Regions from separate parts of the Homo sapiens genome. Here all the other regions are linked to region 2. The links are contacts of gene promoters, found by promoter capture Hi-C in blood cells and fetal thymus (Javierre and others, 2016). All regions are on one chromosome and are shown on one strand. The core of a region is centred on a gene start or on the middle of the fragment in contact, and the rest is flanking DNA. Distances in the headings are between cores, read along the strand shown. Region 1 has its middle 78 kb from the start of PLSCR4. Region 2 holds the start of PLSCR5 (phospholipid scramblase family member 5). Region 3 has its middle 50 kb from the start of PLSCR4. Region 4 has its middle 30 kb from the start of PLSCR4.

Region 1 (6,379 bases), core at 1,959-4,458, 280 kb before region 2:
GTTCTTCTGCATGATCAAGCCTGCTGTTGGAGCACTCTTTTTTTTTTTTTTTTTTTTTTGAGACAGAGTCTCACTCTGTTGCCCAGGCTGGAGTGCAGTGGTGCAATCTTGGCTGACTGCAAACTCTGCCTCCCGGGTTCACACCATTCAGCCTCAGCCTCCCAAGTAGCTGGAACTACGGGCGCTCGCCAACACGCCCGGCTAATTTTTTTGTATTTTTAGTAGAGATGGGGTTTCACCGTGTTAGCCAGGATGGTCTCGATCTCCTGACCTCTTGATCCGCCCGCCTCGGCCTCCCAAAGTGCTGGGATTACAGGCGTGAACCACAGCGCCCAACCAAAGCACTCTATTTTTTTAAGCATAGCCATTGTGTTCTTAAGTTCCAGAATCTGTTTGGTTCTTTTTTCTATTTTCTTTATATTGTCCTACTCACTTTGTCCTTGTGCTGTTTACTGATTAAAAAAAAATGTTTAATCTATGTTCTCTCTTACCTTACTATGCTTCTTTAGAATAACTGTCAATTACTGGACAGTTATTACATTCCTTTGATGATTTCATGTTTCCCTCCTTTTTTGTGTGTTCTTTGTTTCTTTGTGTTGGTGTCTGCACATTTGAGAAGCAGTTACCTATCACAGACTTTATGGACTGGCTTTGGTAAGGAAAAACCTTCACCTGCAGAGGAGGAATGAGGATGAAGGGATGCCAAAAGTAGGGTTGTTTGTGGGTGTACTCTGGGCCCTGGGTCTAGTGGTGTTCAAGACAAAAACTGTGGGAGTGTGCTTCAACTCTGGGTTTGGGGCAAGTGGTGGTGGATCAGTGATCAGGGAGCTGGAATATGCAATGTTGACAAATGTGTGGTCTTGGAATTGATGTTTACATAGGGCCCACGATGGCCACTAGGGTTGCTGGGAATCACACTGGCATCTCTTGGTCAAGTGGTGAGCATGACTGGGTAGGTGGATGTTGAAGTGGGCAACATGCTTGTAGTTAGCTACAGGGGCCAACTGCAGGTGTGCCCACTACAATGGGAGCTGAGGTTGGTGATGGGAGCAGAGCCTAGTTGTATACATTTATACAAAGTGGCCATACTGGGTCCGGAGTCTCCATGGCATCACTGGCTAGGGTGCCTTCAGTGGTTGCAGCAGATGCTGCAGCTTAGGCAACTGAGGTCAGAAAAGGGAAAATATGGACCCCTTTGTGGTGAAGGTTTCAAGAGTCTGCAGTGGCCATAAAGGTTGTTGAGGTCCTTAATGGTGACATTATTGGAGTCCTCTGCAAGGCGGGCCACTGAGAACTGAGGTAGCACCTGCTGCCATGTACTTGATACTAATGGCTCCTACCCCCTTGTTCCTAGCCATCTCCAAATATATCAGCTATGCTGATTTCCCTAGCAATCTGGCTGGGTTAAAACCAAAGTAATTCCTTCAGCCTAAAAGCTGGGGAAACTGGTTGTTCATCTTGATCCTCTTTTCCTTCATAAGGAGAACTCATGGGCCAAGATGACCTCTCACGGTGAGCAGCTGTGCTGGCCTGAGGAATTAAACAAAAGTAGCTAAATGAAACCGTTCTTCCCAGTCTATCTGTGAAGTTATTTTTGGTTCTATTGCGCCACTGTGTGGCTGCAACTTCTTCAATAGAATCTTGAACTCTCCCAGAGCTATTTTCATTTATGCATAGCTGAATAATTATTGTTTTTGTGAAAGGACAAATATATCATTTTTAAACTGAGGTATAACATATAATTTGTAATGTGTGCAAATTTAAATAAGCAAGTTAAATATTTTTTCAGTGTTATACATACATCCATGTATCAACTAGGTGGATATGGAACATTTGAAGTACTCCAAAATGTTTTCTTCTGTGCTATACCATTCAGCACACTCTAAAGAGGTGGCCACAATGCTTGCTTCTATCTTCAAGTCATTATTTTGACCTATATTGAACTCATCAAATGAAATCATCCAGGGTATATTCTTTTGACTCTTGCTTCTTTCATTTAATAAAGCGTAATAGTGAATTTTATGTGTCAACTTGACTGGACCATAGGGTAGTGAGATATTTAGTTAAACATACTGGGTGTGAAGGTGTTTATGGATAAGATTAACATTTTAACTGTTAGACTGAATAAAGCATATTGTCTACCTAAATGTAGGTGCACCTCATCCAATCTGTTGGAGGCCTAAACAGAACAAAAAGGTAGGCTTGGAGAGTATTCACTCTCTCTCTACCTGTCCTCTATGTGAGACATGGTCTTCTTTTGCCTTCAGACTTGGGCTTGGACTGAAGCCTGCACCATCAGCTCACCTGAAGCTTTCAGGCTGAGATTGGAACTATAGCATTGGCTCTCCTGTGTCTCCAGTTTTCTATCTGAAGATCATGGAACTTCTCAGCCTTCATAACCACATGAGCCAGTTTCTTATGATAAGCCTACATGTACATCTTTGTCTAAAGCTATCCTATTTATTCTATTTTTCTGGAGAGATCATACTAATAGAGATAACTTCTGAGGGTTATCCATGTTATATTGCACATCAGTAGTTTCTCATTTTCATTCCTTTGCAGTATTCCATTGTGTGAGTATAATACATATTAATTGTCCATTTTTCTATTGATGGCATTTAGGATGTTTGCATTTGGTGTTATGAATATAACTACTACAAATATTGTGCACAAAATCTGGTAAACATTTGCACTTCGAGTATTCATCTAAGAGTAAACTGGCTGAATTTTAGAGTAAGTTTGTGTCTTATGTACAGTAAGTGTAAGTCAAGTTACTCTATACTCTTACCAACACTTGGTTTTTAACAGTTTTCTAAACTTTAACCATTTAAGGCAGACGACATTTTGAAGTGAGTAGAGGTTTATCTATGACACCTGTGCTAGTGTGCAATCAAGCAACTTCTCTATATGTCTTTCATCTCCCTTACTGACATCAATGCTCAGGGCCTTTTACTACCATTACTCAGTTGCTAAATAAACCTTAATAAACTACGATGTTAGTTGATAAAAATTAAATGATAAATTCAAAGCCAACAGTGAAGCAGAATTCGTGAAAACAAACCAAACAAACATAAGAAACAGAACATATATGAGATAGTCATTAGTCCTATTTACAAGCTATTTTCTCTCCTTCCAGGAAGATGGTAAGATTGCATTTTTTTGGTCATTTGAAGTTGATTGTATTCATATGACTTGCTTTGGCCAGTGAATTGTAACTGTAAGTAATGTGTGTCACTTTGGGGGAGAAATATTAAGAACTAGTGCCTGTGTTGTCATATTTACTTTCCCATGCCTGTGTCCATTTCCCCCTGCCTTAGTACTTAGGAAAGACTGGGTCAAGATTAAGTCTTTTCTGCAGCAGGTCCTTGAGTGACTGTGATGAACAAAAGTATCTTGATGACCTACAAAGGACATGTAAGTAAATAATAAACCTTTATTTTTATAAGCCACTAAAACTTTGAGATTGTCACCGTAGCTTAACCTAGCCTACACTGCCTGGCAATCTGTTCACATGCTCTAATGCGACAATCTGCCTGTGCGAAATATTAGTTTCTCCCTTTACATGCCATTTGTGGTCTTCAGTTTGAGGGAGCCCCTGGTAGTACTAACTCACTCCACTAGTCCTCCATAGAAATTTGAGTTTGTTTGGTGACAACGTTTTCTATACTAGGGATGATTATGTTTTATTGGGAATGTATGGCAAACTGAAAATACTATTGGATTCAGATAAATGAATTTTACATAGTGGTGTCTCTTCATTGATGACTTGTAAACCAGTTAAAGAGAAAATAACTCTACATTTATTACTTTACGGGTGCTTGGGAGGTTTTCTCACATTTTAGGAAGATGCTGAAAGACTTGTTTCATCTGAAAATCAAGGGAGAGGAAATTAAAAAGGAGAAGCAATAGTATGAAGGCAATTCTTCCTGTTTATATTCAAGTATAACAACATGCCAAATTATAGGAAACCATTTGCAAATAATTGATTCCATTTATGCTAATATAAACAGTGTTATATAAACTATATAAATATAAACTATATAAAAGTAACCAGAAAAAAACTTTAAAACTCTATTAGGTTATTCAACTTTAAATAAATTGCTCAGTTAAGCTTATCAACTCCTGGACATATTTTTTAAAACAATGGTTTTCTCGTGTATCCAGCGGGAATAAGGAAAGAATCAAGGAAAGGTATGTGCCAATTATCTGTTAAAGTACCCACTAGACAATTAACATCTAATGGGACAGAACTTTACCATATCTCCAAACCTAGTTACATAGAAGGGTCAGAAATATTCTGTGTATTCCAGGTTTCATGTGGAATCAGTGAAATTAGAGATATTATGGGAGAAGAAGAGACTTAAGGGAACAAGCAATACCTCTACCAAAATTACTCTCCATTGCTGATATTTCCATGTAGAGATACTGGCATTAGAGAAGACTTCTGATCTTTATCTGTTCCCTCATTTACTTGCCTCAGGGATCAGGGATAAATGATTGTTCTTGGGGAGTTTGAGCAAAGCAACTGGGTATGAGAAGTTCAGCTGTGTTTCTCTTTGGAGAGACAGCCTGTTAACAGACAGCGCGAATTCCTAGGTTTTTCAGGGAGTGAGGTTTATGGTGGTAGGACTCTAGAATAAAGGGCTGTGTTTTTTTCCAGCTCTGCCTGAGACAGTGAGAGTAATTCTGATTCAGCACCCTTTTGCAAATTTATTATTGCTAGAGAATGAAGCCTTGTCCTCTAAACAGCTTTATCAGGTTAATGATGAAGTCAGTTTTACTCCTTTGCCTATCTCTCAAGTGATTTCATTCACAGGCAAAGAACAGTGATAGTATACAATGATCTCTCAAAAGGCCAACAATATTAGCTTGCTGTCAGTTAAGAAAACAGCACCACATTTCTCTGATTTCCATATCTAGGAAGGTCCTATGGCCATATCTCAAACAAGTGGCAAAAATTACAGGTAGACAGGAATACACAAAACCGGACAGAACAGAGAGAGCTATACAGACACAGAAAACAAACAGAAATATTGAAATGTTATAATATATAGGAAACTAAGAATAAACAATTCAAGGATATAGGAAATATAGTAGTAGTCCCCAGAATAATTTTTATAACTGACTGTGAATCTGCCAGAACTATGAATAAAGTATTCCCACATCTCCAGACATATTGTCTATTCCATGTTATCTGTCAGACTAACAGGCAGGCTAGGTCACATCTGGACAAAGTAGTATTTGGCTGCCCATTAGCTATAGTTCTTTCCCTTCATCAAGGTAATTGTTTGAGTCTGTCTATGATCATCTGATATTCTTTGTATGACCAACAATTAAATTTTTCAATGCAAGTGAATCTGTCAAACAACAAGTATCTTTCACAAAAGAATCTAAAAATATATCTTAATAAATGAAATTAAACTCAGATGTGAATGGTGGCTGTGAAAAATATGACTGTATCAATAAATGAATGGATGAGTAAATTGAAATACCTCATAGATGACAGGTATTTTAAATGCTTTTGTTTTTGTAACATAGTAATTTAGTTTTTCCTTCATAGGTAGAAGATTGCCGTGAGATCAGTCGGTATTGTTGAGATGTGCTATGTTAGCATTTGCTTACGATTAATTTACAACAGTAGATAAATTTGAAACAAATATCTAAAAATTTTCTATTAACCATTGTTATAAAAGATTGCACATTAAGGCTGGGCTCAGTGGCTCACGCCTGTAATACTAACAATTTGGGACGCCAAGGCAGGCGGATTGCCTGAGCTCAGGAGTTTGAAACCAGCCTTGGCAACAAGGTGAAATCCCGTCTCTACTAAAGTACAAAAAATTAGCTGGCTGTGGCAGCATGCACCTGTAGTCCCAGCTACTCGGGAGGCTGAGGCAGGAGAATTGCTTGAACCTGGGAGGCGGAAGTTGCAGTGAGCCAAGATCGTGCCCCCGCACACAAGCCTGGGCAACAGAGCGAGATCCATCTCAAAAAAAAAAAAAAAAAAAAAGTCTGTTAAATTTTTTGTGTGATTGCAAGAATACTGGGGGATAAAAGGAATCTGTAATTTGCAGTCCTGTTTCAACTATTTGTGCTCAGTATAACGTTGGACACATGACCTTGGCCTGTTTTCTCATTTGTAGATTAGAATGTAATGCAGGTAGTCCTCAATATTCCTTCTAACTCTAAAATATTTTGGTACTATTCATTAAAATTTATAGATTAGTAGTAGCATAATTTGGCTAAGGAAATAGTATATTTCAGTAGAGAAAGCAATGAACTACTGCTGTCCCATTTTGTAGACTTATATTATTTAGTTTTATGTCAGGGAGGGGGGAAAAAGAATAATTCACCAAATTAAATGAATAATATTTATTATTAA
Region 2 (6,907 bases), core at 1,195-3,694:
TAGAGTGTGAGTGAGTCTCTGCCTGAGACTGTTGAGAGACATCACTATTCTGAGATCACTAGCTGCTTCTTCTGGGATTTTAGTTCACATTGAAGCAACCTTTGGAGACAGCTCTTGCTCAGTTCAGATCACCGTGTTTGAGAGCAACTTGCTCTTAAATTGTGTTAATTTCTACTAAGCCAGGATGCTCCAGCTCACACAAATGTCTCTTCAGTTCTAATGGCACCTGGTATTTAGACTGTCTTTTGGTTTAGTAGTGCTGATTGATCTGCCTATGAAATATGTGAAATGTACAATTAGTCTGCATTCCCTGGGAAAATGCTAATTGCCAATATAGTTACTGGACAAGAAAACATGATGTTATAAATAATGTGTTTATATACAGCTGAAGAAAACTATCCACAAAAATGTTTTACTTAGATAATGGTGATAATTTGACTTGCCCTCTTAAACAAGATATCTAATTCACAAGAAAGCTTCATTATCACTTATATTCTCCTAGGTAGTATGAAGTCTCTAATAGGTGTTTTATCCTTCCATGCATTAAATATTTTGAGCCGGTTGCAGAAGGAGGGTCAGTTTTCCACCTGAAGTTTTGCTTCTAAGTTTAGACTTGGGTCTTTATCATTATGGAACATCACTGCTTCCTGTTAGATTAATCATATTTTGACATAATATTACTTTCCAGTCACAAGTTTCTTCAAAGACTCAGACAACCAGATGAAGAAGGAACTCCTTTGAATTTCGTACTGGCTTTGAATTTCTATCTACTCTTTTAAAAATGTATAACTAGCTTATAAATATTTTATACACTCTGCAACTTTTTACCTTACAGTCTACAGTATTGCTGTAACTCTTATTTTATAAAGTGATGAAGTATTTTGGACTAAATAGTAGTGTCAGTCTTAAATGAAAGGAAATATTTGTCAAGGTTTTTTGTTTATTTGTCTTCAGATAGAAAAAAATGACACATATGTTAAATTCATGATTTTGCTATTTCACATCTATGTTTTACAATTTGTGTGAGCTTTCTCAGTGATTCTGAGGGACTGAGGGACTGGTCTACATTAAAGATTGATAAAAAATGGAAAGATTATCTCATTTGTTTCATATTAAATAGTGACCAAAAGTGTGTTTTGATAAAGGAAGCAAGTAAGCATACACATTTGTTTGAATGGATCACTAATTTAGGATATTACAAATTGATGAGCCCTATTATCCTATTTGTAATTAATTTAAAAGGTTTTCACCAATTATACTAATTATAATTCTTCATGCTAAAACTTTTCATTATAGCCTAGGCTTTAGTGGTTCATTCTGACAATGAAATGAAAGCACATTATAATTTTATTTCTTACACAGTTTCACAAGTGTTTTTAGTGAGATTGCAACTTACTTTAAAAACAACTACATCTCTTGTCTTTTTAGACCTTCTTTAAAGTAAGATAACGTAATGATATTTTTGCAGTTTTAGGAATTTGAGAAAAAACTCATCAGTCCTACTCCCCAAAAGTCTGCTAAGTGATCTGTGCGCTTAAAGCAGATATTTTCTGTTTGTTTTCTATCTTTAATTTACCATAAGGAAATTTCAAGATATTTTTGCTTTATAATTCAGAAATACTTATTTCTAGCCCATCACATTTAAGAATCAATAATAACGCATGTCAGATTCTTTATAATAAATGGCTATATCACATAATTTGAATAACAAATGGGAAAATAAAACTTAGAGAGTGTAACTGGATTGTCTGTAACTCAAAGGCTGAATGCTTGATGGGATGGATATCCCATTCCCCTTTATGTCCTTAATTCACATTGCCTGCTTGTATGAAGACATCTCATGTATCCCATAAGTATATATACCTACTATGTACCCACATAAATTTTTAATATTTTAATTAAAAAAATTATTAAATTGCACTTTAACACTTTCTAACTTATGTGTGAAAAGTTTTCTTCAAATCCTTTTAAACTTAAAATATCACCCTGTCCTTGTGTTTAACATTGAAGATTCCCATTCTAAACTTTGCTATGCAGCTTTTCTTATTAATTCACTATGTTTGTATTCATGATAACTAAAACATCGTTTACATCTGAACTTTTACAGTCTGTCAGATAAAGTGTTTTTACATGTAACTCAACATGCTCCTGGGAGTTAAGATTTTAAAATCACAATGTTCAAAAGTGACAAATGACAGCTTTTAAAGTACCAATCTAACTGGTTGTAACACATCCACAATTGTATATTTTTAGTCTTAATATAAGAAAAAGTTATTAGTTGGTTATATTTACTCTTACCTTTAGAGGCCATGAAGATGTCTGAGTCACTTCTTCAAAGGTTGCCAGGTTGGAAAACAAAGGCTTTTCTTGTTGCAGCAAGGAGAGAAAACGCAGCATGCACAAAACTTCAGAACGTGTTTGTCTGCCTCTTGTCAGCTTACATATAACAGAGGAAGGGAGTCCCTTGCTGTTTCTAGACTTCTGGACTTTATCAGTTTGGACAACAGAGTGAGATGAAACTGTCACAAAAGTAAACGCTGTTCAGAAACCATCATATAACTTTGGTGGCTGAAGGAACAATTTAAAAATAATAAAAACCAGAAAGGAAAGCACACAGCACTCATTTTAAGTGTCTTTTTTTTTTTTACCAAGTTGTTTTTGTATTTCTTAGAATATACACATTTGCATTCAGTCTTATATCAGAAATATCCTGTATTTCTCAATTTCTAGAAGTCTCCTTTCCAGATTCTGTGATAAAACATCCTATTGTATAAATTTTTGATAGTTCTAAATACAATTCTTTACATGTTGAAAATGTTTGAACATTATTATTGTTATTTTTCTATTGGATTTATCTCCATCTCTTCAACTCAAAATAAATAAGAAGAGGATATATTCCCTACTATTATATAAATAAATCTTTATTTTCATTTTTAATTGAATTTGATTAATCAGAGGCATTGGAATATACAAACCTTCAATAGCCTTGCAAAGCTAATCAAAATTTACAGATGATATTTAACTGCATTGAATTCTAAGGAAAGAAAACAAGTGCTGTAACCTTGACTGGACAGCTCCTATTTCTAAATGCAGCTACCCAGGTGACCATGGAGATTTTGCTCACCAAGTCAATTGCCCTACATGGTATGATTCACAAAGGTTGAACATGCAGGATATATTGCATTATCAGCAACACTGTCTTTTTCTGAAAATAGTTAAGAGGCTTCAGGAGGTATACCTTGTGATGAAAAATTATAAAGTCAACCTCACAGTTTGCAGACTGCCAAAAGTTTGAGTTTTCCTTATTTGACAAAGAGGAGTGGTTTTGTTGTTGTAGTTTTCTTAGTGTTTGGAGTTGAAAAAAGCTACCATTATTTAAGTTGTCGTTTTGCAGAAAAGATGTGTGAATATGATTAATATTTTTAAATTAAACTGTATGTTTCCTAAGTTTTTTCTAATGTTTGTCGTGAGCATTTAGAAAAACTTTAATACAAAAAATTAAGTTATTAACACTATCAAAGAAGATTAAAAAAATTTTTTTTATTATACTCTAAGTTCTACGGTACATGTGCACAACGTGCAGGTTTGTTACATATGTATACATCTGCCATGTTGGTGTGCTGCACCCATTAACTCATCATTTACATTAGGTACATCTCCTAATGCTATCCCTCCCCTCTCCCCCCACCCCACAACAGGCCCCGGTGTGTGATGTTCCCCTTCCTGTGTCCATGTGTTCTCACTGTTCAATTCCCACCTGTGAGTGAGAACATGCGATGTTTGGTTTTCGGTCCTTGCGATAGTTTGCTGAGAATGATGGTTTCCAGCTTCATCCATATCCCTACAAAGGACATGTACTCATCATTTTTTATGGCTGCATAGTATTCCATGGTGCATATGTGCCACATTTTCTTAATCCAGTCTATCATTGTTGGACATTTGGGTTGGTTCCAAGTCTTTGTATTGTGAGTAGTGCGCAATAAACATACGTGTGCATGTGTCTTTGCTCAGCAAAAGGAACTACCATCAGAGTGAACAGGCAACCTACAGGATGGGAGAAAATTTTTGCAATCTACTCATCTGACAAAGGGCTAATGTCCAGAATCTACAAAGAACTCAAACAAATTTACAAGAAAAAAACAAGCAACCCCATCAAAAAGTGGGTGAAGGATATGAACAGACACTTCTCAAAAGAAGACATTTACGCAGCCAACAGACACATGAAAAAATGCTCATCATCACTGGTCATCAGAGAAATGCAAATTGAAACCACAATGAGATATCATCTCACACCAGTTAGAATGGTGATCATTAAAAAGTCAGGAAACAACAGGTGCTGGAGAGGATGTGGAGAAATAAGAACACTTTTACACTGTTGGTGGGACTGTAAACTAGTTCAACCATTGTGGAAGACAGTGTGGCAATTCCTCAGGGATCTAGAACTAGAAATACCATTTGACCCAGCCATCCCATTACTGGGTATATACCTAAAGGAATATAAATCATGCTGCTATCAAACAAGATGTTTTGAAATGTGGTCAGAATTCACCAGTTAATTTTGACTGCCCTACACAGCACAAATTTTGGAATAAAAATAAAAATCTTAGTGAATTAAACATATTTGTGAACTCTCCAAAGACAACCATATATGACTTGGGCATATGATGACATGGGCATATGACTGACTGATGGGATCTTTTAATATTTAATCTGCAGTGGAGGCTTTTCAGATCATCGAACCTGGTAATGCTACTGGTGAGGTATACTCAATGCATTTTTCTTCCCTTATGCACTCTCCCTGTCTTGCCAAAGACAATACCAATGTTTTTTTTCTTTTTAAAGGCTAAGTGTTTGCCAACCTGAGATCTCCCTTTTGTTCATTCCTTTCTTTTTCTCAGCTTTTCTCAAGGAGAGGCTCACAAAACTCTGTTTAATAGGACTCTCACATGTTTCAAGTGTCCTAACACTGTGTGTTCACGCAGCCAGGAGATGCTGCTCCACAAGCTGGCCTCTCTCCTGTTGCTATTGCTGCTGCCATTCAACTTCACCTTCATAGTACTCAGTGCTCTTCTCCTAACACCTGCTGCCTTCCTAGAAGAACGATGGTCATACCATCCTCTTGGCTCTGTGCCATGAAGCCCTTGACCTTTTCAAGAAGCATCAGTTTGACTTTGCCACCAGCCTGCAGTTTTTATGGCCCACTCACTTGATTCCAACCCAAGGTGGGCATGTCTAACACAGTACTGAAGACTTGAGATCACATCGAGGGCATTGCTGTAAGAAACAGGAAACTTGAACACGAATATCAGAAACCATAGGGTGAATGGGCTTTGCCTCTTCCCAGGAAACTCCCTATTGGTCATCGCTCTCTCCTGAGCCACTGGTTTGCTGCTCTGCTGCATGGGCTTGCTCATTTACTCAGGATGATCTGCCTTTCTGGTCCTGTACCTCCTGAAACAAGAGGAGCCTCATATATCCCCCCTTTTCTTCCATTCCAGCCAAAAGGAAATGGAAACAAATTGCACCATAATTGCTGCACAATTACCTTCTGCCCATAGACTATTTTCAGGACATATCACAGGTGTTTCTAAAGAGTTGTCCATTCAATATTACAGTGATGTTCATAACTTTACTCTTTATTTAGTGGCTAGTATTTGACTTACATTTTAATGTCTGAAAGACGCATCAAAATGCTTTCTCTCAGTACAAGGTGAGAGAAATGTCAATTAAATCTATATAGTGACAGAATAGAAATGTTGCCTGTTATAAATCAAAGCAAAGACTAATATTCTCTAGAATGGAAAATGGAGTAAGACATAATCTTACAGTTCTGGGGCAAAACCAAGGACTGGGATGAACTGGCTTTAGAAATACTTTACTGGACTTATGGTTATTCTTCCTCTGGCTTTACTATAAAATGTATGTATCTTAAAAATTATATACATACATACATACATATACAAACATATACATACATACATATATATGCAAATATATGGAGTGAGAGATAATTACTTGTTTTTTGAGTTATATAAATATTATTTTAGGTATAATTCTAAAACAAATTTTATTCTCTTAAGATTATATTCTTTAAAAATTCATGATAATACATAAAATTACATTTATTTTAAATCACTGCATATGTTATTTCATTTTATAAATATAATGAACATAATTGGTGGCCATTGCCCTTTTAATGGGCATTTAAATTGTTTCTATTATGTAAAGCAATTGTCCTTATGCACATTTGTAGCAGCCTTTTGAAGGCATATATTCAGAAATAAAATTTCTGGTTTATGGGGTAGGAAGATCTTCATTTTTACCAGCTAGCACTGAATTGATCTTAAAGTACTTGTGCCAATTTACATTCCAAACGTTAGTGGATAAGAGTTCCTACTGCCACATACCCTTTCCAATACTGGGTTCGTCAGTGTAGTAGAGGATTAACTAGGGGTCTTTCATTTATGAGAAGGCAGCTTTCAGAGGTCTTGATTACATTATAATCTGGGTAACCAGCACTTTTTAAAAAAATCTTTTCTTATATTTCATCGTGTAAGAATAATAGCACATTTTGTGAATAATTGGTTATAAAAGAAGTGGGGAATGGTGTCTAAATGGTTTATACGTTAGTGATAAATAGCTCCTTTCATTCAGTGATGCTACTGGCATGATCTGCTAAAATATGAATCCACATAAGAATTCAACCGTGCAGCACCTAAGGCATGCATTTCTATGCTTAAGTCTTATTGTCCCTGGATTTATAATTTTCCATAGTAAAAAATTCACCGTGGAGCAAGACACTGTATGTGTAAATAAAAAATAATAGAAATAAAACAAATATGGGAATAAATAAATATTATAAATAGTTTTTCCAGAGTCATGTGATTTAAAACTACCATCTTAAATA
Region 3 (6,237 bases), core at 2,133-4,632, 300 kb before region 2:
CACTTTATATATGGACATGCATACACAGAATAAATTTACTGTTTAAATTTCCAAAATTATTTCCCCAACAAACAGTAGATTTCATTTACTAAGACAATGGTTTTCAAGAGTGGTCCTCAGAGCAGCAGCATTAATATTATATTTGAAATACTTAGAAATACAATATTTTTGGCTCTACCCTAAGCATATTGCATGGGAAACTCTGAGGATGGGCCCAGCAATTTGTAGTTGAACAATGCTCCAGGTGATTCTGATGTACAATTAAGTTTGACAATCACTGCTGTGGGAGATCCTTAGCTTAAGGGTTAGCTGTAATGAATATGTTTCTTCTATTTCTGTTAATTCAAAATTGAAATAGAATTATGTTTTAAGTATTTTTTAAAAGGCAATGCAATTGAATAGCTTCTGAAAAATTGAATAATACAGGTCTGATATAAACCTGAAATATCAAGTTAACAATAGACTTTCATTTTAAAAAGAAAAAGTAATATAATAATAATACATTTGTAATGCTTGCTCTCTATATGCCAGGTGTAATTATAAGCACTTTACACATAATAAATATTTAATTCTCACAATTTATATAGGTAAGTAGTTTTTCCATTTTACAGATGGAAAAACTGGGTATAGGGAGGTTAAACAACTTGCCCAAAACATGGACCTGGTAAGAGAAAGGTGACGTACAGAGCTAATAATTGGCAGAGCTGGAATGTAACTCTAATTGAGTGTTTTCATATTCCCCACTTTGATCACGATGAAATACTTCTGCTTATAATAAATTGTTTTAAGTTCTTAATTTGTATTAATAAGATGTTTGCCTCTAAAAAGTAGTGCATAGGGAAGACAACACTATTTGTATATGGTTGCAAATGGAGACTTTTGTGTCTAATCACGCCAAACTACAATTTAGGATTTGGCCAGCAAAGTAGTTTGTTTGTCTGATTGTTTTTGAGAGACATTAGACTGGGCATCACTGTCAGTTCCTCTGCCTTCCCCCGTCACTTCCTGATATCTTACACTGCCCTGTGCATTTTTCTTACTTTCAAAGTCTCAGGTGGCAGATAAGTCATGAGCCTGAGTTAACTGGTTCAGTTCACTAATTAATATGAGTCCTAAAACAAAGCTCTCAAAGATATACAAGCACACAGATGGGAGATTTAGCATGGGGGTTACTTTATTCCAATTTGGCTCCTACCCACATGAGGAGTTTCTCTGTGGGAGCTTGACATTATTTTCTCAAGAAAGCAGAGGGTGATATTGTATACATAATAGTGAATTAAAAAACAAGCAGGAAATCAGCCAGAGCTGCTTGAGACATGAGATCTTCGGGGTATATACTTACTATTGAGCCTCAAATTGGAAATTGACCCAATGAACACAATTTATCCAAATCAGAATCAAGTTATTTTTTTCTCTTTAATGATCTGCATTAACTAAGACCTTCTGTTCCCCTTCCACCTAACCTATAGGTGACTGAAACTCCTGGTAAACAGAAAGGACAAGGAAAGCAATCTAATTAAAGGCTGCTATGGCTGCTCTAATCACAGTTACCAGGAAATAAACTTCCATCTTTTCCCAGGTCTCCTTTTTCCCACTTGGTGGAAAATGAACAGGCTAGAATGAACATGCATGACATGATTTATTAACTACACTGGTTCCGACTTGAGTCAGCAGCAGGAGAAACAAGAAGTTTACAAACTCTTTTGAGTATGCAGGTCAAAAAACTTTACGTATCGCAAATTCCTTCTTTGCTCTTTCTCCCTTAATCCATGGAACAAACTCCTCCCAAGGAGAAACAATTAGTTCATATTTGGCTACACTTCTAAATACTCTTGGCCTCAGTTCTCAAAGATTTTCCATAATAACACCAGCAGGGTGTGGTTGATGCCTCAATTGCAGGGTCTGTAGGAGCAGGGCTTGCATAGATTTAGCTGTAACTGAGACCTTACTCCAGATTGGCCATACTCTCACTACATTATTAACCTTGAACTGATATGAAATCTAGGACACACACTTCTTGGATTCTGCCCCTGCCTCAGGCCATTTGTACTGCTATAATAAAATACCTGAGACAAGGTAATTTATAATAATCAGAAATTTGTTTCTTCCATTTCTAAAGGCTGGGAGAATCAAGTCCTTTCAGAATGGCATTAATCCATTCATAAGGGTGGAGCCTTCATTACCTAAACACATTCTATATTCTTGTGAATAATTCATTTAATATTTTTTACTCCTGAGGAAAATGAATAACTCTTATACAATAGAGATCTCACCCGCATACCAATACTGTTTGTAAAATATTAATGTTTTAGACTCCGTTTATATGGGACATAACTTTAAAACAAAACATGTTCCATGAATCAGACATTTGTTAGACCTACTTAAATTAAAGATACTTCATCAATTCCTCCAATTTTTTCCCAACCTTTTTCTACTAAAAGCTTGAATATTCAATGATATAGAAATATGCCCCAGGAGAGGCAGAACAACATGGCAAAATAGAAAACTCCACAGATCATCCATGGCTGCAAGGACACCAAGTTAACAACATCTTCATAAGAACCAAAAGTCAGGTGAGCATTCACAGTATCTGGTTTTAACTTCATATAGCTGAAAGAGGCACTGAAGAGATAGGAAAAAAGCCCCAAATCTCCAGTGCTACCCTCTTCCCCTACCCATGGCAGCAGTGGTGTGGTGCAGAGAGCATCTCTGTGCTCCAGGTGAGGGAGAACATGGCAATGTGAGGCATTGAACTCAGTGTTGTCTTGTTAGAGCAGAAAGGAAAACCAGACTAAACTCAGCTGATGCTGGCCCATGGAGGGAGCATTTAAACCAGCCCTAGTCAGATGGGAATTACCAGTCACAATGGTCTGAACTTGAGTGCTCACAGACCTCACCACCAAGGACTATAGCACTCTGTGCCTCCAAGTAAACTTGAAAGGTAGTCTAGGCCATAAGGACTGCAACTCTTAGGTGAGTCCCAGTGCTGAACTAGGCCCAGAGAGACTGCACTGAGGGGACATGTGACTAACCAGCTTGGGCAGCCAAGGGAGTGCTGGCATCACCCCTCCCCTAACCCCAGGCTGCACAGCTCATGGCTCCAAAACAGACCCCTTCCTTCTGCTTGAGGAGAACAGAGGAGAGAGTGGGGAGGGCTTTGTCTTGCATCTAGGATACCAGCCCAGCCACAGCAGGATAGGGTACCAGTCAGAGTCATGAGCCCGGATTCCAGGCCCTAGCTCCTAGACAACATTTGTAGACACACTCTGGCCAGAAGGGAACCCACTGCAATGAAGGAAAGGACCCAGTCCTGGCAGCATTAATCACCTACTAACTGAAGGGTCCTTGGATGCTGAATAACCTGTAGCTATGCCCAGGTATTACATCGAGGGCCTTGGGTGAGCCTCTGAGACTTGCTGGCTTCAGGTGAGACTCACACATTACTAGCTGTGGTGGCTATGAGGAAAAACTCCTTCTGCTTGAGAAAAGCAGAAAAAAAAAGTAAAGGTTTTTTGGGTTTTTTTTTCCACCTTAGGTGCCAGCACAGCCACAGAGGGGTAGAGTGCCAAGTGGGCACTTGGGGTCCCCAATTCCAGGACTTGACCCTTGGATGGCATTTCTGGCCAGCCATGGGCCAGAGAGGAGTCCACTGTCCTGAAGGGTGAGTCCCAGGCCAGGCAGCATTTAAGACAAGCTGACTTAAGAGTCTTTGGGGCTTAAAAGAACATTAGTGGTAGGCTGGCAGTAGTCCTGGGCCTGGGGTAGCACAGTGGCTATGGGGTAAGTCTCCTCTGCCTTTGGAAAAGGAAGGGAAGTGTGTGAAGGACTGCGTCTTGTGGTTTGAGTGCCAGCTTGGCTGCAATACAATAGAACACCAGGTAGACTTACATATATGGATTTTGACTATAGTCCCTGACTCCTGGCCAGCACTTCTGAATCTAACCAGAGCCTGGGGGACCTCACAGCCCTGAAGGGAAGAACACAGGCCTGACTGACATTCCCACCTGTGGATTGTGGAGCCCTAGTCAGAGAGTAGTTTAGCAGACCTTGGGTGAGGCCCAGCACTGTGCTGGCATCAAGTCTGACCCAGCACAGTCATAGTAGTGGTGGTCACAGGGGTGCTTGTGTCACTCCATCCCCAGCCTTAGGTGGCTCAGAACAGAGGTAGAGACTCTATATGTTTGGGAGAAAGTAATAGAAGAGAACAAGAGTCTCTACCTGATTTTCCAGGGAATTCTTCTGGATCTCTTAGACCATCAGGGTGGTACTTCCACAAGTCAGCAAGAACCACAAATTTACTGGGCTTGTGGTGCTCCCTAAAGATAAAGCTTACATCATAACACCCAAGTTCTTTTAAATATCTGGAAAGCCTTCCCAAGAAAGATGGCTACAAATAAGCCCATATAGAGCAGGCTACAGTAAATACCTAACATCAATGCTCAGACACCGAAGAACATCTACTAGCATCAGCATCACCCAGGAAAGCATTGACCTCACCAAATGAACTCAATAAGCTGCCAGGGACCAATTTTGGACGAACAGAGATATGACACCTTTTAGACAGAGATTTCAAAATAGCTGTGTTGAGGAAACTCAAAGAAATTCAATATTACATAGAGAAGGAATTCAGAATTCCATCACATAAATTTAACAAAGAGATTGAAACAATGAAATAGAATCAATCATAAATTCTAGATCTGAAAAATACAACTGGCATACTGAAAAATGCTTCAGATTCCTTTATTAGCAGAATGGATCAAGCAGAAAAAATAGTGAGCTTGAAGACAGGCTATCTGAAAACACACAGTCAGAGACAAAAGAAAAAATAATGAAAACCAATGAAGTTTGCCTGCAGCTTCTAAAAAATAGCTTCAAAAGGGCAAATCTAAGAGTTATTGGACTAAAAGAGGAAGTAGAGAAAGAGACAGGGGTGGAAAGTTTCTTTAAAGTGATAATAACAGAGAGCTTCCCAAACATGGAGAAAGATATCAATATCCAAGTACAAGGTTATAGAACACCGAGCAGAATAAACTCGAAGAAGACTACCTCAAGGCATTTAATAATCAAACTCCCAAAGGTAAAGGATAAAGAAAGGGTTCTAAAAACAGCAAGAGTGAAGAAAAAAATAACAAATGATGGTGCTCCAATATGTCTGACAACAGACTTTTCAGTGGGAACCTTACAGGCCAGGAGAGAGTGGCATGACATATTTAAAGTACTAAAATAAAATAACTTTTAACCCAGAATAGTTTATCCAGTGAAAACATCCTTCAAACATGAAGGAGAAATAAAAACTTTCCCAGACAAAAAGCTGAGGGATTTCATCAATGCCAGACCTGTCCTACAAGAAATGCTAAAGGGAATATTTCAAACAGAAAGAAAAGAATATTAATGAGCAATAAATAATCACCTGAAGTTACAAAACTCATTAGTAATAGTAAGTAAACAGAAAAATACAGCATATTATAACACTGTAACTGTGGTATATAAACTACTTTTATCCTAAGTAGAAGGACTAAACCATGAACCAATAGTAATAAAGAGCTACAACCATTTTTCAAGACATAGTCAGTACAGTAAGATATGAATATAAATAATGAAAAGTTAAAAAGTTGGGGGATAAAGTTAAGGCATAGAGTTTTTATTAGTTTTGTTTTTACTTGTTTGTTTATGCAAATAATATTAAGTTGTTATCAGATTAAAATAATGGGTTATAAGATAGTATTTGCAAGTCTCATGGTAACCTAAAGCCAAAAAACATACAATGGATACAGGAAAAAGAAAGAGGAAGAAACTAAATCATGTTACCAGAGAAAATTACCTTCACTAAACGAAGACACGAAGGAAAGACAGAAGGAAGAGAAGACCACACAACAACCAGAAAACAAATAACAAAATGGCAGGAGTACTTCTTATCAATAATAACTGCAATGTAAATGGACTAAACTCTTTAAACAAAAGATACAGACTGGCTAAATGCATGGAAAAAACAAGACCTATTTATCTGTTGCCTACAGGAAAAGCACTTCACCTATAAAGACACACATAGACTGAAAATAAAGGGATGGAAAAAGATATTCCATGTCAATGGAAACCAAAAGAGAGCAGGAGTCACTATACATATATCAGACAAAATAGATTTCAAGACAAAAAATTTAAGAAGATACAAAGAACATCACTATATAATGACAAAGGGGTCAATTCAGCAAGAGGATATAACAATTTTAAATATATATG
Region 4 (6,362 bases), core at 1,563-4,062, 320 kb before region 2:
ATATAATACTTTGGAAATGCCTTTTATATTCCTGGTAACTCCAAATACCTCAGAATAGAAAATAAGTTTACATTCACATACCAGAGGATACTGTTCAGATCAAGAAACTAATTTAATCCCTCTGTCACTTTCTCAAATCTATGATATCTTAATCTCACAACTTTTGACTGCTAATAGCCATGGCTGAGATTTGTATTTCAGCTTCTCTCAGTTCTATGTATCCACAAAGATTTTGAGTTTAAAGGTCTTGAGACTACTAGGTTCACAGATTACTGCCACATTCTGTCTTCTTGATTTATCATTTATCTCAACTAACCATATACTTGTAAAAAATAACAGCTTTATTGATACATAATTTATATAGTATAAAGTTCACCTTTTCACACTGTAAATACAGTGGTTTTTGTTATATTCACAGAATTGTGCAAGCTTTACCATTGAGTAATAGTAACTGGCCCAAGACACACAATAGTCTGGCTGTCATCCCAGACCATTCCAACTCTTATGTTCCTGGCCTGCTAATTCTTAAATTCCATTTCCATCTGTTTCCTGACTTTTGATCCTTTATTTTTCATTTAACACTTGCTTCTGCCCTGGAGACTTGGCATTTGTCTCTTGTCTCTAATTAATGACAGTCTTCTAAGGACTTTGACTTAGAATTGTTCACCAGAGCTTTCATTTTGGTCACCTCTGGAAGTTCTTCTGCCTTACTTGTTTTCTAAGAATCTACCCATGGATATTGCCACTCTAGTCAGATGATTGTTTTCCCATCAGGAAGTCATTCAAACATTTTGCTTCCAGTTTTTGTTTCTTTGGACTCAGTCTTGATGAAGCTATAGACACATGGATGAACTCAGACTCTCTCTTGAAGATGAAGGAAAAGTAGAGGTCTCGTTTGGGAGAAATTTAGGGCATGTCCTCAGGAATTGGGAATTACTGCAAAGCCAAGCAAATTAAGATACAAGATACATCGCAGTGAGGTACAGATAATTTGCCTGGGACTCCTGATTCTAGATCGCCCCTCAGGAGTTCACACGGTGATTCTCAGCATAGGACAAACCAAGTCATAGAATTCATATTGGACATGGCAGAATGTGTGCAAGGGAGCATTTGTAGGTGCCACTTTGATACAGACATTGTTAGCATTGAAAGGACAATGCACAGAGATATTAGGCCTCCTGCAATACATAGAGCAGTCCTGCACAAAAAGTGTGTTGGTGACTTTGATGATTTTGAATCCCTAATGGGTGACATGAAAAAATATGTCATAAACTGTCATCTGATGGATTTAAGATTATTGATTTATCCCATCATCTCCCTGCATTTCTGTTGCCTTTGGCCTACCCCACCAGTGACTTGGGTCACAACCTTGGCTCTGCTTACCTGCGGATGCCCTGCACAACAACCTGACTCCCAGTGGAGAGATTCTTCCCTTTCCCTGCCTCAGGGAAAGAACTGGTTATTTGACCCAGAATGGCTATGTTTGGACAGCATTCCTAGCAGTAGGAAAGGGTTCCTGAGCCAGTATGTGAGTTTCAATACAGCTAGAGGGTAAGAAAATGGACTCTGGCCCCAGGATATCTGGATTTGAACTTGAGCTTTACAACTCACTAAAGGGGAGATGACTTCCAGGAAGTTATCAAACTTCCTTTTGCCTCCGTTTCTTCCACAGTAAAAAAGGGGTAATATTAGTACCTGTCCTAGAGGTTTGTTATGGAATGAAATGTGTCAATACATAAAAAGTGCTTGTGAGAGGCTCTGTAAGTAATATGTTAGCTTCCCCTCCACCCTCAAGAAGCCTGCATCACTGATGATTTATCTTGGAATAGGAAAGTCAAATGACAATTAATGCTGATCACTAGATTTGTGACCTTGGTAATTTCACTTCACCCATCTTTATGTTTCTCTCTGGTAAATAAGGTTAAGAATTCCTGGGGACATTTTGCTAAGTGAAATAAGACAGCGACAGAAGATCAATGACCTGATTCCACTTATATGAGGTAACTAAAATAGTCAACTCATAGTAGCAGAGATTAGAATGGTTGCCAGGGGCTAGATGGAGGGGGAAATAGGGAGTTGCTATTCAATGGGCATAACGTTTCAATTTTGTAAGATGGATGTTAGATCTGCTGTATAAAATTGTGCTTAAAGTTTACAATACTGTATTAAAACTTACACATTTGTTTAGAAGGTAGATCTCATTAACTGTTCTTGCCACAGTTTTTTTGTAAAGCTACAATTTTGCCTCAGTTATTCCACAATGACTTACTAAGATTTCTCTTCCAAAGACCGGGAGCAGCACACAGCAGCAAGCATCACGTAATGTACGTAAGAACTCACAGGCAGAGGGTCAGCAGGAATGAGGGTCTCTTGTTTTTGTAATATGCTAGAGAGTTGTGATTGGACCATGGAGCTGGGTCCTGGCAGAGATATTCTGCCCCTCGCTGCTTTTTTTGTTTTTTTTTTTTAATGGAATAAGCATAACAATGATCTTGCTCAGGGTAATAGACACTTTCAGTTTTGGGGCCAGTTTCTTAATGATGTACTTTAAAAAGCCAGTTCTCTAGCACTGGAAGACAATGAAAAAAGTTGCCAGGCCACCCAGAGAGAGAGCTTCACAGTCCAAAATTAGCACTCCTGCTTTTCTGTATAAGACTGAAAGACAAAACATAAATAAATGAATCTTTAAAATTATTAAGCATGGTGTAATTTAAATGGATGTACCTATGAGTATCAAAAACTAATTTTGAATGATTATAATGAAGAATACAATATACAACATATATAATGCATTATATTATGTTCTTAATCCTAAATTTATAACTTTTACTTAAATATTAAAAACATCTAAAAGTATTTTTAATCATGAATCAAACTTTTGATTAGTAGCTCACAACTGAGAATGCGATAAAATTGATAGCCAAGGGGGCAAGAAAAAAAAACTCCAAAAGACTGTTTTAATTAGTATACAGTTGTTCCTTGGAATCCATGGGTGATTGGTTCCAGAATCCCTACCAAAATCTATGGATGCTCAAGCTCCTCATATAAAAAAGTTGTAGCACAATAAATTCTCATCATCATTGATAAGTTCTTGGAAACTGCAACTTTAAGTAAAACAATGTATAACAAAATCTATTTAATCATAGGCTAATTGACATAAATAAGAATTAAGTTCTTATGGCATATTTCTTGTCACAAAAACATCACCAAACTTCTAATTAAAGACCAAAACACTTCTGATATTCAACAGTGAAATAAATGTGAGCTATATATACCTTTAAGAAAGGCTCAAAAAAACAAATCAGATAAATGTTTATCCAACTACTCCAGTTCAGGATCCCGGGTAGCTGGAGCCTATCCCAGCAGCCCAGGGCCAAGGCTGACACCATTCCATTGCTGGGAGCAATTAGGCACACACACCCACACTCACTTAGAATGGGACCATTTTGACATGCCAGTTAAACTAACATGCACATCTTTGGAACGTGAGAGGAAATCAGAATGCCTGCAGAAAACCCACACAGACATGGAGAGAACGTGCAAACTCAACACAGACGTGGTCCAGGCCAAGAATTGATTTTTTTTCTCTTCAATGTTACAACAAAACAACATTCATGCTGTACTTGCATATAACCTATGCACATCCTCCCATGTACTTTAAATCATCTCTAGATTATTTATAATGCCTAATACAATTTAAATGCCATATAAATAGTTGTATTACTGCATTGATTAGGGAATCATGACAAAAAAATCTACATGTTCAGTACAAAGTCAATCATCCATTTTAATTTTTCTGATTATTTTCGATCCATGGTTGGTTGAATCCACAGATGAGGAACCCGTGGATATGAACAGCCATCTGTAATTAATACTCTAAAACAAATACCAAAATTTTAAAGCCACAAATTTTTATACATTCTTATTTTATAACACATAACATTATTTGTAAATTCATAAGAATAGAACTTACAAGTATAATTTATATGTGATGTTGGCATGTGAATGAAAGTTTAATTTGCATAACTATATTTCAGTAATGAAACTCAAAATAACTTGTCCCAAATCCAATAGTTGATATGTGATAGAGCTAGGATTCTGACCTGAACTTGCTATATTCTAATGCCTATGGTATCCAGTACTAGACAGAATAGGAGAGATTTAGCTGGCTTCAATATTTAAAGTGACATTACCTTCTGGACAGGGCTGGCTTTGTGGGCCTAGGAGTTGTGCAGTTGCATGTGGCTTAATGTGTTACATCTTCATCTTGAAGATATTAATATTTTTTTAAAAGGGGCTCAGCATTTTTAGTCTGCCCTGGGCTCACTGAATTATGTAGCCAGTCCTGTTTTTGGAAAAGATACAGACAACTCTTTAAATAGTCTCTGTGTTTGTAATCAGTGTGATAAAAATATAGAGTAAGCAACCAGCAAAGTTGTTCCTGGACAACCCTGGGATCAGCATGCTCACTTGCTGAAGTGCTCTCCATCCATGGTGATGTCTTCTGGAGTTCTCCAAAAGAAGATACCCCACTGGGTCTTTCTGTAGCTGTCTAGAATGCTCTTTGTTAGGCTTGAGCACACCTCCTAGCAAGCCACAGGACATGGAACAAATATGACTTCTAAAATCCTCAAAGGATACTTTGAACCTTCTCAGAATTTATCTTCAAAATGAGAGACAAGTGGGAATTGATAGAAGAAGGGAAGAAGAGAGAGAATGAAGAAGGCAGGGAGAAAAAGAGAGAGAGGGAGAGGGAGTGAGAATAACAATGTCTATAGACTTTGTTATAGAAAAAGAATGTATTTATATCCTACCTGTAAAGATTGTATTGCTCTCTCATTTCATTTCTATAATGGCGTATATGAAGTTCTTTAATTCCCCCATCACCTGGTAGAGGTTTATATGTATTGCTCCTCTACTAACTTCTTTAAGTAGTGGAATATTGCCTTGATCATCTTCTTGGGCCACCAAAATTTTGGAAAATTTTGATGAAGTGTTTGGTGAAGTTAAACAAAATGAAATGACAGAGCTCTGCCTGTATTCAATGACTTTGGCATTTATATATTTCCATTAAAATTATGTGCTTTTCAGGTGAGTTACGTGAAGTTTCCTAAAACTAAAACTAAATGAATCTCCAAAATAGATGCGTAAGTCCTTCATTACCTAAAAGCAATGTTTCCAATTAGTTTCTGCCTCTAAGCTTTATTTTCCCAATGCAATTTAGCTAATGCTTTAGCTAAAGAGAAAGTAAGCCACTGATTAAATTAATGTTTTAGTAGAAGATTAAGTGAACTACTATTAGCGTAAATCCTTCTTCAATAGCATTTGACAAAACTGCTGCTAATTATCTAGCCAACTACAAATGTTCTTGCCAGGTAGTAGAATCATGAGGTTCTTTTTGCCTTTTCATTTTCTTTTTCTTTTTTTTTTTTAGTTGGATTTTATTTTTTCTGGAATATGTCACATTTTAAATAAGAGTGTCTCTTGAAAGACAATGTGATTGGGGCCATACTCCTCACAGAAAAAGACGATTTTTTTTTTTTTTAGTTGAGGATATACGATTTTCAAGAGCAATAATAGCACCAGTGTTCAAATCCATCAATCAAAACCCTGTGAATGCTAAAGAAAATTTAAAGAGGAAACAGTAATACCAATCTTACACCAATACTTTCAAAGAAAAATCATGATTCCCAACCTGTTTTATGAGGTCAGAACAGGGGTGTGCTGTAGTCAGTTTGCACAGGCTAACAAAAGTCAATTACAAATATCTCTTCCCAACTCTGCATTTCACATGTAATAACCACCATTGTATAACAAACAGAACTAAGCAAATTATAATGCCAACAAATATAGTTATAGTTCAGTGAGACAATATTAAAAATTTGGGAAAAACTTTGAAAAAAAGAAAAAATTGGAAATCTCAAGAAAAATAAAATCTCCTGTGTTCTCTTTGATCAAATTTACTTTGAAGTCTGTGCTCAACTTGACTAATGAAATAAATGTGCAAATGATAACTAATGAGACCAATATACTGACTTTTCCCAAATACATGGAAAAGTTGAAATACATTATAGTTAACCTCCATGCACCTGTCACCTACAACAAAACATCAATAGTTTTTTAAGGGTCCCAATTGTTTTTTTTAAAGCTGGTCCAATGTGCAGCTAAGTTTGAGAATCACTGCGTTAAATTATAGTGTTTCTCACACTTCAGTGACAATTTAAATTACACAGATTGGTGTTGGTTATTCTTTAACTTATTGGAGAGCAGCTGTGGGGAGTGGGCTTAACTAGGAGCTGGTATGTCTGGCCACATTCCAATGCTTCAAAGGAGTATCTTTCTCCTTGAGCACAGTGTTTATA

Evidence for each region. The method cuts DNA at HindIII sites, captures the fragments that hold promoters and counts their contacts. A CHiCAGO score of 5 or more calls a contact.
Region 1: a fragment that was not itself captured here is called in contact with the fragment with the promoter of PLSCR5 in region 2 in 1 of 17 cell types (monocytes); the score reaches 5.9 in monocytes.
Region 3: a fragment that was not itself captured here is called in contact with the fragment with the promoter of PLSCR5 in region 2 in 2 of 17 cell types (total CD4 T cells and monocytes); the score reaches 5.5 in total CD4 T cells.
Region 4: a contact is called between a fragment that was not itself captured here and the fragment with the promoter of PLSCR5 in region 2, in 2 of 17 cell types (naive CD4 T cells and total B cells). The highest score is 6.1, in naive CD4 T cells.

The regions. Positions count from the first base shown.
Region 1 is chr3:146,325,746-146,332,124 of GRCh38, forward strand. No RefSeq gene overlaps it. Among named protein-coding and RNA genes, the nearest start is that of PLSCR4, 78 kb to the left of the region's middle. The HindIII fragment of the contact is 1,801 bases long and covers 2,309-4,109 here.
Region 2 is chr3:146,602,902-146,609,808 of GRCh38, forward strand. It overlaps PLSCR5 (phospholipid scramblase family member 5), which reads right to left and starts at 2,445. Exons shown (of 8, transcript NM_001085420.2): 1 at 2,299-2,445. The coding sequence starts at 2,311. The HindIII fragment of the contact is 8,012 bases long and covers 475-6,907 here.
Region 3 is chr3:146,297,800-146,304,036 of GRCh38, forward strand. No RefSeq gene overlaps it. Among named protein-coding and RNA genes, the nearest start is that of PLSCR4, 50 kb to the left of the region's middle. The HindIII fragment of the contact is 1,887 bases long and covers 2,440-4,326 here.
Region 4 is chr3:146,277,651-146,284,012 of GRCh38, forward strand. No RefSeq gene overlaps it. Among named protein-coding and RNA genes, the nearest start is that of PLSCR4, 30 kb to the left of the region's middle. The HindIII fragment of the contact is 4,771 bases long and covers 428-5,198 here.